Regions from separate parts of the Homo sapiens genome. Here regions 1, 2 and 3 are each linked to region 4. The links are contacts of gene promoters, found by promoter capture Hi-C in human tissues and cell types (Jung and others, 2019). All regions are on one chromosome and are shown on one strand. Each heading gives the region's core, a stretch centred on a gene start or on the middle of the fragment in contact. The rest is flanking DNA. Distances are from core to core; before and after follow the strand shown. Region 1 overlaps DYM (dymeclin). Region 2 overlaps DYM (dymeclin). Region 3 overlaps DYM (dymeclin). Region 4 holds the start of SMAD7 (SMAD family member 7).

What was found. The method cuts DNA at HindIII sites, captures the fragments that hold promoters and counts their contacts. A contact is called where the count stands out against the background at its distance.
Region 1: a fragment that was not itself captured here is called in contact with the fragment with the promoter of SMAD7 in region 4 in 2 of the 25 tissues and cell types used here (IMR-90 fibroblasts and lymphoblastoid cells).
Region 2: a fragment that was not itself captured here is called in contact with the fragment with the promoter of SMAD7 in region 4 in 1 of the 25 tissues and cell types used here (mesenchymal stem cells).
Region 3: a fragment that was not itself captured here is called in contact with the fragment with the promoter of SMAD7 in region 4 in 1 of the 25 tissues and cell types used here (lymphoblastoid cells).

Annotation. Positions count from the first base shown.
Region 1 is chr18:49,157,522-49,160,625 of GRCh38, forward strand. The region is part of intron 15 of DYM (dymeclin); the gene reads right to left. Among named protein-coding and RNA genes, the nearest start is that of MIR4744, 110 kb to the left of the region's middle. The HindIII fragment of the contact is 9,195 bases long and covers 1-3,104 here.
Region 2 is chr18:49,141,298-49,144,398 of GRCh38, forward strand. All of the region lies in intron 15 of DYM (dymeclin), which reads right to left. Among named protein-coding and RNA genes, the nearest start is that of MIR4744, 93 kb to the left of the region's middle. The HindIII fragment of the contact is 3,239 bases long and covers 7-3,101 here.
Region 3 is chr18:49,112,010-49,115,110 of GRCh38, forward strand. All of the region lies in intron 16 of DYM (dymeclin), which reads right to left. Among named protein-coding and RNA genes, the nearest start is that of MIR4744, 64 kb to the left of the region's middle. The HindIII fragment of the contact is 3,387 bases long and covers 1-3,101 here.
Region 4 is chr18:48,949,249-48,952,470 of GRCh38, forward strand. It overlaps SMAD7 (SMAD family member 7), which reads right to left and starts at 1,717. Exons shown (of 4, transcript NM_005904.4): 1 at 564-1,717. The coding sequence starts at 1,176. RefSeq lists silencers at 655-974, 2,191-2,890. The HindIII fragment of the contact is 10,376 bases long and covers 495-3,222 here.

The sequences.
Region 1 (3,104 bases), core at 374-2,873, 210 kb after region 4:
TGAGGCCCAGTGAGGCAAAATGACATACTTAAGGCCACACAGGTCACAAGCCACAGAACCAGTTCACAAAATATAATATTTGCCCATTTTAAAATTCCATTATCTTTTTATTATTGATCTCTTCACATATTATAGATACTAGTCCCTTATCAGATGGATTATTTGCAAATATCCTCTCCCATTCTGTAGATTGTCTTTTTGCTTTCTTAATTGCATCCTTTGAAACACAAAGTTTTAAATTTTGATGAAGTCTAATTTATCTATTTTTCTTTTGTCACTTGAGTTTTTGGCATCACCTAAGAAGTCTTTGCCTAACCCAAAGTCATGAAGGTTTAATCATATTTTATTCTAAAAGTTGTATAATGTTGGCTCTGACATTTAGGTCTATGGTCCATTTTGAGTTAATTCTTGTGTATAGAATGAGTGAGGGGTGACAAATAATTACTGAACACCTATTATACACCAGACACTGTGCTGGATACAAACAACTCAGTGACAATGACACAAGACCATTTTTCACTTTCATGCCCTCTTTGAAGAAGCATAACACCTGGAATGTTTTCCTGCCTGAATCTCTCCTTTGAAAAATATTACCCAGCTCAAATTTCAACTCCTTTCAATGAAGACTGCCACAGTACCTCCCCTTCTTCCTAAAAGTTTTTCTCTCTCACTTTCTCTTCTGACAACCCACAAGTTTGGTTCTGTAGCTTTTATAAAATTGGTTATATGTTGAATTGTATTTTAGTTGTGTATCTGTTTTAACTATCCTGTAAGTAGGTACTATGCCTTCTTCATTTTTACCTCTTATACCATGGTAAAGTAATGTAAAACAAAAGTTTTAATAATATTCTGATTGCTGTTATCATCACTAGAATAAATGCATGAAAAGTTGACCCCCAAAAGCAATTGTCAAAAGTGACAACATGTGAAAGGAGCTGTTTTAAGAGTAACAAATTTCAGCTTTTCAAACTTCTTGGATATGACAGCATACCTACTAAGATAACTGTTCCCATGTTATATAAGTGTTAAATTACCTACCCCAGCCTTTAAATCTTCCAGAAAAATCTTTAAGGGACATTTCCATCAAGAACTAATACCATTATTCTACTCTCTGTCTTCATGAGTTCAGTTGTATTAATTTTTAGCTCCCATAAATAAGTAAGAACGTGTGATGTTTGTTTGTTTGTGCCTGGCTTGTTTCACTTAACAAGAAGGATGGTTACCAGAGGCTGCGAAGGGTAGTTGGGGCAGGGAGGGGATGATTAAGGAGTAAAAAAATATAGTTGGATAGAATCAAGAAGATCTAGTATTTGATAATAGCACAACAGGGTGATTACAGCTAACAATAATTTATTGTACATTTTGAAATAACTAAAAGAGCATAATTGGATTGTTTGTAACACAAAGAAAGGATAAATGGTTACCCCATTCATCCTGATATTACTCATTGTACGTGGGTATTAAAATATCTCATGTACCCTATAAATATATACATCTACTATCTACCCATAAAAATTTAAAAAAGAATACTCTAATACCATTATATACAAACAATATGTATGTATATCTTTGTATTATTTATGTACGTGTGTGTACAAAGGGGCATTTTAACACTAGCTCAGTAAAGGCACAAACATTGTACAAAACAATTGACTGAAGATAGTTTTCAATATTATTTATCCATCAACTATTGAGTCAAATGAATTTGAGATCTAAGTTAAAGAGTAAACACCACACAGAATCTTAATAATAGAACAACCTAAAAAGGATGGGGTGGAAAATAGAAACATCTCTGAATTTAAATTTTGTCATATGAAAATCAGATCAGAATATCCTATAATACATTTCTGAAGAAACTAAATGTCTGAAAGCAGATTTAAAAGTTTGTAAACAAGGTCTAAAAGATTATTAATAAAAGCTATGAAGTCAAAAGGTCAGCCAGTGATATAGTCCAGAGTTAACGGTATCTTAGAATTCCATATAGAATGATAATAATAAGTGATCATGACTTGATGAAAATAAATTTCATATGGATGGCTTTTACTCTTTAGAAAGTTACAGTTTAGAAGCAAGCTATCTGTAGGGCACAGTGGCTCATGCCTGTAATCCTAGCACCTTGGGAAGACAAGGCAGGACAATCACTTGAGGCCAGGAGTTCAAGAGCAGCCTGGGCAATATAGTGAGACCCAATCTCTACATTTTGGAGTTAGGTGGTAGAGTCAGTCCTACAGAAAGATTCAAAGTTATTTGATGACCACAGGGCAATATAATTTGGTTCCTTATGGTTGCAACTAGAATAAAAGTTAAATTGTTAGGAACTAGGGAAACAAAGCTTATATGGTACAGTAACAATATTCCTCATTGGTTATAAATATTCATATGGTTATAGCTTAAAAAGCATTCATAACTGATTTATTATCTTTGTTTCATTTTCTATATTCAGGTTCCATATTTGGTTATATATGACCAAACTTCTCTGAAAGTTCAGTTCATTTTTATTAAAAAAAAATCTGTTGAAAGATTCTCCTTTAACAATTCTCTCCTGTCCCTGTTAGTCACTGAATTAAATTGTATGTAATCCTGATCATACAAACACCAAAGCAAAGCCAAGTCAATGGAACTTTATTTGCTTTCTTAAACTCCCTTACTGCCCCTGTAGTGGCATTCTCTCCCCCCACAGGCTTGAGTACAATTTTTGTTTTATTTCCCCTTAAACAGCCAGGGCAGTTTCCTCATTATCTGGAACTCAGTTGAAGGTTTCAGGTTTCCCTAGAGATGTTCAGACCAACATAGTTGCACTAAAGTACTAATACTAATGTTTTTGGAACTTGCGATTAGCTTTCTATGTTGTTACTCAACTGATTTGTGAATTATACAGTATAATGAGGATAAACATTTTCTTAATAAACTTAGAAATCTCTAGGTAGACTGAAAGTACTCTATGTACTACAGTGAGAAGAAAAACATGTCCTTATTTTTAAGTACTTATTCAAACTCTGCTAATACAGTACATTCAGTCTTGGTGTAGAAAGTACACGTCGTGAGACTCTGTCTCAAAAAAAAAAAAAAAAAGTACACATCTAGGAATCCACTGCTGCATTAAG
Region 2 (3,101 bases), core at 376-2,875, 190 kb after region 4:
AGTGCTTTTTTCAAAGGTACATCAGGCCAGGTTACTCTAGTGCCCAAAATCCTTCAATGACTTTATGCTGAACTATGGCTAACCTCCAAACTCTTTACCGTAAATGGGCTCATCAGGCCTTGAACATAGCCCTACAATGACCTATTCCTTCATACTCATTTAATGCTACTCTCCCCCACTATCCACACTCCAAACTATACTGGCCTGCTAACAGTTTCTTGAATAAACAGAGCTCCGTCCTGCTTCAGGCCTTCACACATGCTGTTAAAAACACTCTATCCTCATTTTTTCTCTGGCAACTCTTATTCATCATCAGGTCTCAGTTAAATATCACTTTCTCAGAGAGCAAACCCCTGAATCCTAAGCCTCTAAATCTAAAACAGGATTCTTGCGATTCTCTTGCATTATGTCCCTGTTATTTTAGCTCCATTTTTAATTGCTAAATGATGTTTATTTTCCCTCCACTAGCTTCTTGAGGCAAGGTCCATGACTGCCTATTCATCGCTATGGACTCAATGTCTGGGACAAAATATGACATGAATAAAATCAATAAATATGTTTTCTTTTTTTTGTTGAGATGGAGTCTCACTCTGTCACTCAGGCTGGAGTGCAGTGGCGCAATCTCCGCTCACTGCAAGCTCTGCCCCCCGGGTTCATGCCATTCTCCTGCCTCAGCCTCCTGAGTAGCTGGGACTACAGGCGCCCACCACCACGCCCGGCTAATTTTTTTTTTTTTTTGTATCTTTAGTAGACAGGGGTTTCACCATGTTTGCCAGGATGGTCTCGATCTCCTGACCTTGTGATCCGCCCACCTCGGTCTCCCAAAGTGCTGGGATTACAGGTGTGAGCCACCGCGCCTGGCCAATATGTTTTAAACATATTTATGGATGATGTTTTCCTTGTATTTATTCCATATTTTGCTTCTGCATCTACTATATCTACTCTATTTAAAAGATAATTAATTATAGCAAATTAATTACAGTGTTGTGTTTATTTTCAGATGTAGAATTGAAACTCAAAAGGATTAAGTAACTTCCTCACTGTCACATGGCTATTAAGAGACAGAACTAGGATTCAAATCCAGATATTTCTAATCTAGAGTCTTTGCTCTTGGGTGGGGAAACTGAAGCTTGGACATATGAAGTGATTTACCAATGACTTAAGAAATGAGAATTTGAAGGGTTTGCTTTCATTCTGAAAAAGAGGATGCATGTTATTACATTACTCATGTATTGAGAATACAGATTTTCTACAATCAATTCTTTTTTTGTCTCTTTCCAGACAAAAAATTTCCAGAGTCTGTTTTAAAAACATTTCTGTTAGATGCAGACTTCATCTCTGTTGGACTTGAATCTCCAGTAGAGAAAGGGAAAGGCAGAGTACTTTGTCTATTTGCATCTGGTAAACAACAAGTCCTTTTTGGTATAAAATTTTCAAGTTACTTACCAAAGAATAGGTTAACCCTGGGCATCACTTACCAGTTATTTTTAATCTGCTGCAATCACCAACACAGTAGCAACTTATCATCCCCCTAATAGGAAAGATGATAAGGTGCTATTGATAAAACCCCAGTTAAATAAAGTTATAAATGTTTAAAATTGAGAAAATAGATACCATTTAATAATATATTCTAAAGCCCGTAATTAAATCAGAAAGATTGTTCTGATGTTCAGATCAATTTCGTTCAGGAAGAATATATGGAAAAGACCTTTTCTTACTTTCCATTCCTGAACAATGATAATCATATTTGAATACAATCATATGATCATACCTATCATTTACTGAAAACCTACTATGATCATGGCATTATGCCAAGAACATTACACATATAATTATTAATATTCAATCCAATTCTGGAAAGTAGATACTAGTATTCTCACTTTATACATGAGAGCACAGTAACTTCTCTAAGGTAACTACTAACCAACACAGCATAGCTAGTAAATCCTAAAATGGGGAGTGAAGTCTGTCTGACTTGCAGTGTAAGTTTATTCCTTTATGCCACAGTGCAATGAAAAGAGAATTTTAAACAGCCTTCCTCAGTAATAAGCTTTGGTTTTAGGTGATAAGAGAATAAAGGGCATATCTTCCTATCTTTCAGGTGGTAGAAGCTGTAGTGGTAGTAATTAAGGTCACTAATATTTACACAGTACTTGTTATATGCCAAATATTTTGCTAAGTACTTTCGATGCAGTATTTAATTTAATTCTCATAAAATTTGGCAAGCCGGATATTGGTCTTATTTAACTGTTGAGAAAACCAAATATCAGAGAGGTTAAGTAAGGTCAAGGTCACATAAAGGTTAAATATAGTTCTTTCTGATTCCAATACTCATATTATTTAACTTAAAAAAATTGTGGTGAAATAAACATAAAATTTACCATTGTAACCACTGTTGAGTATACAGTTCAGTGACGCCAAGCATATTCATACGCTGTATAACCTCTGTAACTTTCTTTATCGAGAAATTTCAAATATATACAAAGACAGACAGGATAGTATAATGAACCTCCATGTACCTATCACCCAGCCCATCAACTCATGGCTAATCTTGTTTCCTTATACTCATTCATTTCCTCTTCTCCAGGGTTATTCTGAAGCAAAGTCCAAACAAATCTTTCAACCATAAATATATTGGTTAAGTATCTCTAAAATATAAAGATTCTTTAAAAAATATACACAATGCAATTTTCACACATAAAAAATTAATAGTAATCCCTGAAAATTACCACATATCCAGCCAGTGCTCAACTTTCTAATTAGGTTTTAAAAAAAGTTTCTTACAGGCAGAATGAGAATTCAAATAAAATCTCTATGGTGTAATTGGTCTTCATTAATGTGTTTTTCTCTCTCTCCTTTCTTATTGCAATTTGTTAGTTGAAGAAACCAGGTTATTTGTCCTATATAGATTCTTGCATCCTGGATTTTGGTGATGTTTAATTTTTCTCTGTTCTGGGTTTCCCCAGAAAATTGGTAGCTAAATTTAGAGGCTTGGTCTGATTAGTTTTTGGGTTTTTTTTTTGCAAGACTACTTCATAGATGGTGGTGTGTTCTACATCAGGAGAAACATAATCTATGGTTCCCTCTTTACGTAAGTTTGC
Region 3 (3,101 bases), core at 417-2,916, 160 kb after region 4:
TTACCCAGAAGTAGAGAGTTTTTTTGTTTTATCTTTTACGTGCAATAATGGGTCTCTACCTATGCCCCGAGGGCAACAAGGTTTGGTGCCTGCCTCTGCACCCGCCTCCTCTCCGCACCCCCCTCCCCTCCGCACCCCCACCCCTGCCAGCAATCTAAGGCTTTTGCACCATATGAAAGAAAGGTCTGGCAGGGGAATGATGCTACGCATTTTTCTATTGGTACATCACCTTGGGAGGCTCTCTGGCTTCCTGCTGTGCCCCCAGTCTCAGTGGAAAACAGCCTGTGAGTGCAAATTCCTCTGGTGCTTGGGTCTCCTGGGTGTTCTGTAATGTCATGCTACTCCACACTCAACCTTTAGCAAGTTATTAAAATTGCATCTGATTTCTTTTTACCCACTTGTATGGTGGCTACCTACCCCTGTGCTCTGCCACAGGTGATCCAGTCCTGGTGTCTCACCTCAACTTGAGGGGTGGGTGGGCCGATGACCCCTCCTTGGGATCTAGACTATTTGGTTGTCCTGTGACCTCAGCTCATTGATAGGTTCAAGAAAAGTTATGATTTTGTAGTTTACCTCTTTTTCTCTTTGTTAGGGTAGAACTCTTCCTAGCTTTCTATATCCTAAGCAGAAGTCCACTGTAGGGAATTTATTTTTTAGTAGTAAATTTACTGAGGTACAATTTCATACAATAAAATAAACATACTCATTTTAATGGTACAGTTCAACCAGTTTTGACAAATATGCATACCCTGTAACCATCTGCCCCTCATTATCACAGAATGTTCACTCCACCTTCCCAGCCAGTTCCCCATAACTCCGTCCCACCCACTATTCTCTGTGCCTAGAGTGCTCTGTCCCCAGATAGCTGCATAGCTCACTCTCTACCTGCTTCAAGTTTTGGCTCAAACGCACCTGATTACATTCTTTAAATCTGCAATCTCCTACCGGTATTCTAACGAGCTCTCATTATTCTCCTTTCTTACTCTTTTTTTTTTCCTTAAGCAACTGGGTAGATATTGATGTCATATATTGGGATAAGAAAGACTATAGAAGAAAATATTTTATATTGCATTGGTTTTTGCAGAAAATCAAGAATTATGATTTAACCTTGTTTAACAATTGTGGGACTGTCAAGTCAGTAGCCTAAAGTGCTAGTTTAGAGCTTGATAAGGATGGTCAGGTCTGGAAATACACAAGATCTAATGTCCAGAGATAACAAGATTTCTTGCCTGTACCTTACTATACAATGGTTATAGTTCATTGCATCTGTCCTCTACTCATATTCAGCCATTTCTTAGGTAACCAGACAATTTATTTTATGTTCTCTCTTGTTTGGTGTTATATTCTACCTTGTCTTGCTGCTTAATTCAGCCTGATCATATCACCTTATGTTTTAGATGGGCGAGATAGGCACCAGTGTGTAATAAAAATGTAGGCACTTGAAAAACATCTATCTAATTCCTTCTGCAGACGTTAAAAGTGCTCCAAGGTTAGCCACTTCTGTCTTCTGAGATACTGAGTGCTGCTAAATGTCTTAACCAAAAATAATCAACTCTCAACTCCCTGCCCACTAAAAATAACAGTAGATTCGTCTCCTCCACCAACTTTTTTCTTCTACAGTCTTTCACAGAGTTAACTTCTGAAGGTTAACTCTATGAAAGAAGAAAGTAGCAAAAGCTTGTTTAAGCCAAAATTTCAGGGATCTTTGGGGGATAGATGGGGAAGGTAAAGTACTGAAAAAGGCACACAGTAGAGATGTTATTTATATCTTTATCACAGCATCTTTTCAAAATATGTAAAAGGAGTTTAAAATGTTTTTTAAATGAATTTCCAGTGTGCCCAGCACTATTTTGGATGATAGTATTCAACAAAAAGTTGTTGGAAAACCTGCTCATTTGGAATCTTAATTAGGTTTATCCAAGTGAATGCTGAAAACACGGGATTTAATAGAATGAGAACCTGGATTCAGGGCCTGGTTGACTGACTTGCTAGCTAAGTGATCTCAAGCCTACTATTTCCCTTCTCTAGCCCTGCTCTCCCTTCCTCCTAGGGATGGCGAAAGGGCCAATGACATAAAGCCCCCTGCAATAACATGTGATAACTATCCAAGACAATGATCCTTAGGCAGGAATGTATATTAATAGCATCTGAGAAACCTCTCAGCATCTTTATTTTCTTATCTGTAAAGTGGGATAATAATCCTAGCTCACATGGATTAAGAATGGTAAAAGAGGTCATATACATGAGGCACTCAAGCTTCATTCCCATCATTTAGAAGGTGTACTTAAAAATGTTTAGGCATTTGTTTATGTGGTTTTAAGAACTGCATAACAGCATATAGTCAAATGTTTAGCCTGAGAATGCAGTTTTCACTGCATACAGGTGAAGTGTAAATAAGTGGCCCATTATTCCGACAATGACAGAAAAGTGAGCACTGGGTATAAGTCCAACTTAACATCCTGCTTTTACTTCTATATGGTTCTATACTGTGTACTTACAGTGAGGTCCTTTCTACTTCCTCACCTCCACTCTGCTTTTCACTTCTTCCAAAGGAGAATGTGTTTCAAATGGATGTAGTTTAAATTCTTTGCATGGTTCTGTGTGTCCTGATTAAAAAAAATTAATATGGTCTTTCAGAGACTTTTTTTTTCTTTTTCTTTCGTGTGTGTGTGTGTGTGTGTTTAAGAGATGGTCTTGAATTTCTGGGCTCAAGAGATTCTCCTGACTCAGTCTCCTGAGCAGCTGGGATAACAGTGTACCACCACGCCTGGCTCTCAGAGACATTTTTAAGGATATCAATTGCCTGGTTACTAAGAACGTTCCTCATTGCACCACTGATGGAATAAAGACTGATTTGACATTATTAGAACTGATTTTGAAAGAGAAAGTAATTAGGTTTGTGGATATGATCAGATGGTTTCATAGGCAACTGTGGGAGCATTTAGTGAATGTGTATAGTGGTTAGGCAGAATTATTACAAACAAAGGCCTTATCATCAAACTCTGGGTTTAAGTTCTCGCTGTATCACTTGCTGAATGTGTGACAGTAAACAAGTTAATTAATCTTTCTAACTTGGTTTCTTTATCTGTAAATTGAGGGCT
Region 4 (3,222 bases), core at 467-2,966:
ACTCTCTTTGCCCCAAAACTCCAAAGGTGCGCGGCCACGACAGTATCTGGGCCACTGGTGTTCGACGTGATTCTCCGTATTTACTAAAGGAGTAAATACGGAGACCTTCCAGCCTTTATAGCACGCCTCTCCCAGCCTTCCTTGGCGGGCCTGGACCAAATCCAACTCGGCCACACACCTCAACGTCTTTCCGGGTGCGGGGAGGCGTGACCCCCCCACCTCCCTCTGCACCCCCTTGTTGATCCGGAAATGAAGGCGTCTAATTTTTAACCGCAGACTGCAGGAGCAGTGCCCGTAGACCCCTTCGGGGCAACACAGGAGAAAACCTGGAAGGGAACCCCCAGGGAATGCCCTTTGAGTTTCCCCTTGTCCCTTCTCTACTTTCAGCCCCCAGTCTCTTCCCAGGAGGGTATGCACACTCTCCCAGGAGGGTATGCACACTCTCCCAGGAGGGTATGCACACTCCCCCTGGAGGGATGGCTGCACAAACGCACTGCCCTAGGGGCTTTTCTTCCAGCACTGGCGCTCCGGAAAATGTTGGGGGTAGGGGGACAACTTCTCACCTAGTTCGCAGAGTCGGCTAAGGTGATGGGGGTTGCAGCACACCAGCTCGGGGTTGATCTTCCCGTAAGATTCACAGCAACACAGCCTCTTGACTTCCGAGGAATGCCTGAGATCCGGCCACCTGAACACTTTGCACAGCAGGAGGGGGAGCGAGTAGGACGAGGGCGGCTGCGCAGGCTGCGCGCCGGCGGGCGCCCCCGGGCCCAGCCTGCAGTCCAGGCGGCCGGGCAGCAGGAGGCACGCGGTGCGCGTCCCGCCGCGGGACTCCACGGCCTGGAGCAGCAGCTCCAGCTGCCGCTCCTTCAGTTTCTTGAGCACCGAGTGCGTGAGCGCCTTCAGATCCGCCTCGGCGCCCCCGGCCGCGCCGGCGCCCGCGGCTGGCGGGTGGGGATGGTGGTGACCTTTGGCACCTCGCACCGCCTTGCCCAGGCAGCATCCAGCCCTGCCCGGGCCGCCGCCACCGGCCCCATGCGCTCGGCTGTCCGTCGCCCCTTCTCCCCGCAGCTCGCCTCCTCCTCCACCTCCCCCTGCGCCCTCCTCCTCGTCCTCGCCGCCGGGCGCACGGCTCCTCCAGAGACGCCGGACGAGCGCAGATCGTTTGGTCCTGAACATGCGGGGCGAGGAGGCGAGGAGAAAAGTCGTTTGCCTGCTAAGGAGCGAACATGACCTCCGCACACCATGAAGAAGTCGGGCGCCGAGTTGGGGCAGCAGGCGCAGGCGACAGCAGCAGCAGCAGGGGCCCGGGCAGGAGCGGCGGCGGCCCGAGGGGCGCTCCGTGGCATGCGCCAGTCTCCCGGAGGCCGGGGCGCGCGCGGGGGCCCGGGGGCGCCCGCCGGGGATCGGGGGCCTGCGCTCCGGCTGCCCCACCCCGCGCGGCCCGCGCCCTGCGCGGCTCTCCGGCCCCGGCGCGCCCCGGAGGAACCCGGCCGCCGCTTCCCTGGGGACGGCCGAGCCTGCCCCCGTCGGCGCCTCCCCAAAAAGAGGCCCCCCCGCAGTGGCTCCCGAATGTCGGGCTCGCCAGCCTCGGCTTCCTACATGGAAGGTCCGCGGGGGCAAAAAACGAAAGGCGTTCGGCTGGGCTGTTGGAAGAAGGAAAAAGCCTCTTTCCCCCTTGCTAAGCAACTTAATTTGGGGGTGGGGAGAAGCAGGCAATTAAAAAAAAAAAAGCAAGCGATTTATTTTTTTCCTCTATATCCTTAGTAACCGGATCTCCTCGAATTCCGCGCACACGAAGACTCAGGGGAGGGGGCCGAGTGGACTTCACCCCGCATGAGACGTCTGGCAAAATAAGAAGGCTCTCGCAAAACCTAACAACCAAATATGCAAAGCCCCAAATGAAAACCACCACCTCCTCGAACCTCAGAGGTCTGGGGGCGTCCGGCTGGAACTGGGGTTTAAAAAAAGAAAATGTTTACAAAGTATAACAAGATGTTTGATGGGTGGAAAAATGTATCCACGAGTTACATCCCCCCGTTTCCTTGCAAAGCCCCGCTGGTCTTCCTCTCCTTTTCTTCTGCCAAAAAAAAAAAAAAAAATCGTGTATTTTTTTAATCCACAGAAAGCTTTGGCTAGACCGCTTCAATCCTGCGCATCTGGGTGGTTTAGGGGAGTCTCTGGTCTTTCCCCCTGCGCTCCTGGGGGCCCAGGTCCTCGGCGGGGACTTCCTCGAGGCTGGCGCGGGCGCAGGGGCAGAAGATGCTGCGGCGGCGGCTGAGCCCGGCGGGGCTGACAGCGCGGGGGAGGGTGGCGCGGCGGCGGCGGAGGGCCCCAGACGGGTCGCGCGTTCTCGCCCCCCCCGGGCACAAGCTGCTTGCTAGTGCAGGGGCCGCCGATGTCCCTTCCCCTGGCCGCGGCTGGCCGCCGAGGCTCCCCGCATGGGCTGCTCGCCTCGACCCAGCTGCGGCGGCAGGAGGCCCCGGTGTCCTCTCGGCGCCTCCTCCTCCGAGACTCTCCTCGTCGCGCCCGGGAGCCTCCTTGTCCCCGGTCCGCCCTCTCCTGGCGCTCCGGTCCTTCTGCCGCCGCCAGGGGCTCGCCGCGCCGCACTCAGGGGCTCAGGGGCCGGGCGCTCGGCGGCTCGGCGCCGACGGACTGGCTCTGTCTCGGGCAGCTCTCTCCCGCGCGGCGAGCGGACCGAGCACGGCGCCCGGCTGGCTCGGCTGGCGCGGCTCGGGGACAGGATCTTCCGTGCGCCGAGCAGCAAGCGAGTGTGCCCGGGGCTCACCGCCTCCCGCAAGGCCTCCCGCCCCCGCCCCCTTCCCTCCCCCTTCCTCCCCCTTCCCTCCCCCGCCCCCAGCCGCCGCAGCCGCGCCGCCTCCTCCCCGCCCCCCCGCACCCCCCCTCCGGCCCTCTGCTCGGCTGGTTCCACTGCGCAGTGGCGCGCCCGGCTCCGGCCTCGTCACGTGGCCGTCTAGACACCCTGTCGCTTTAAAAAAAAAAAAAAAGCGATTGTGTTTCGCAAACAACAGATCGGGTTTCTAAAAGCTATTTCTCCCCCCAACCCCCCGCCACCGCCACCCCCTCCCGGGTCTGTAGAGGGGGTACCGATGGAGGGGAGAGAGATAGGTGGGGGGCAGAGAAGCTCCCAGAATGGATTGAGCCCCGGCCGGAGCCATGGAGAAATTGGAAAAGCAGGGAGCACCGAGCGGGCTTCGCCGCGAG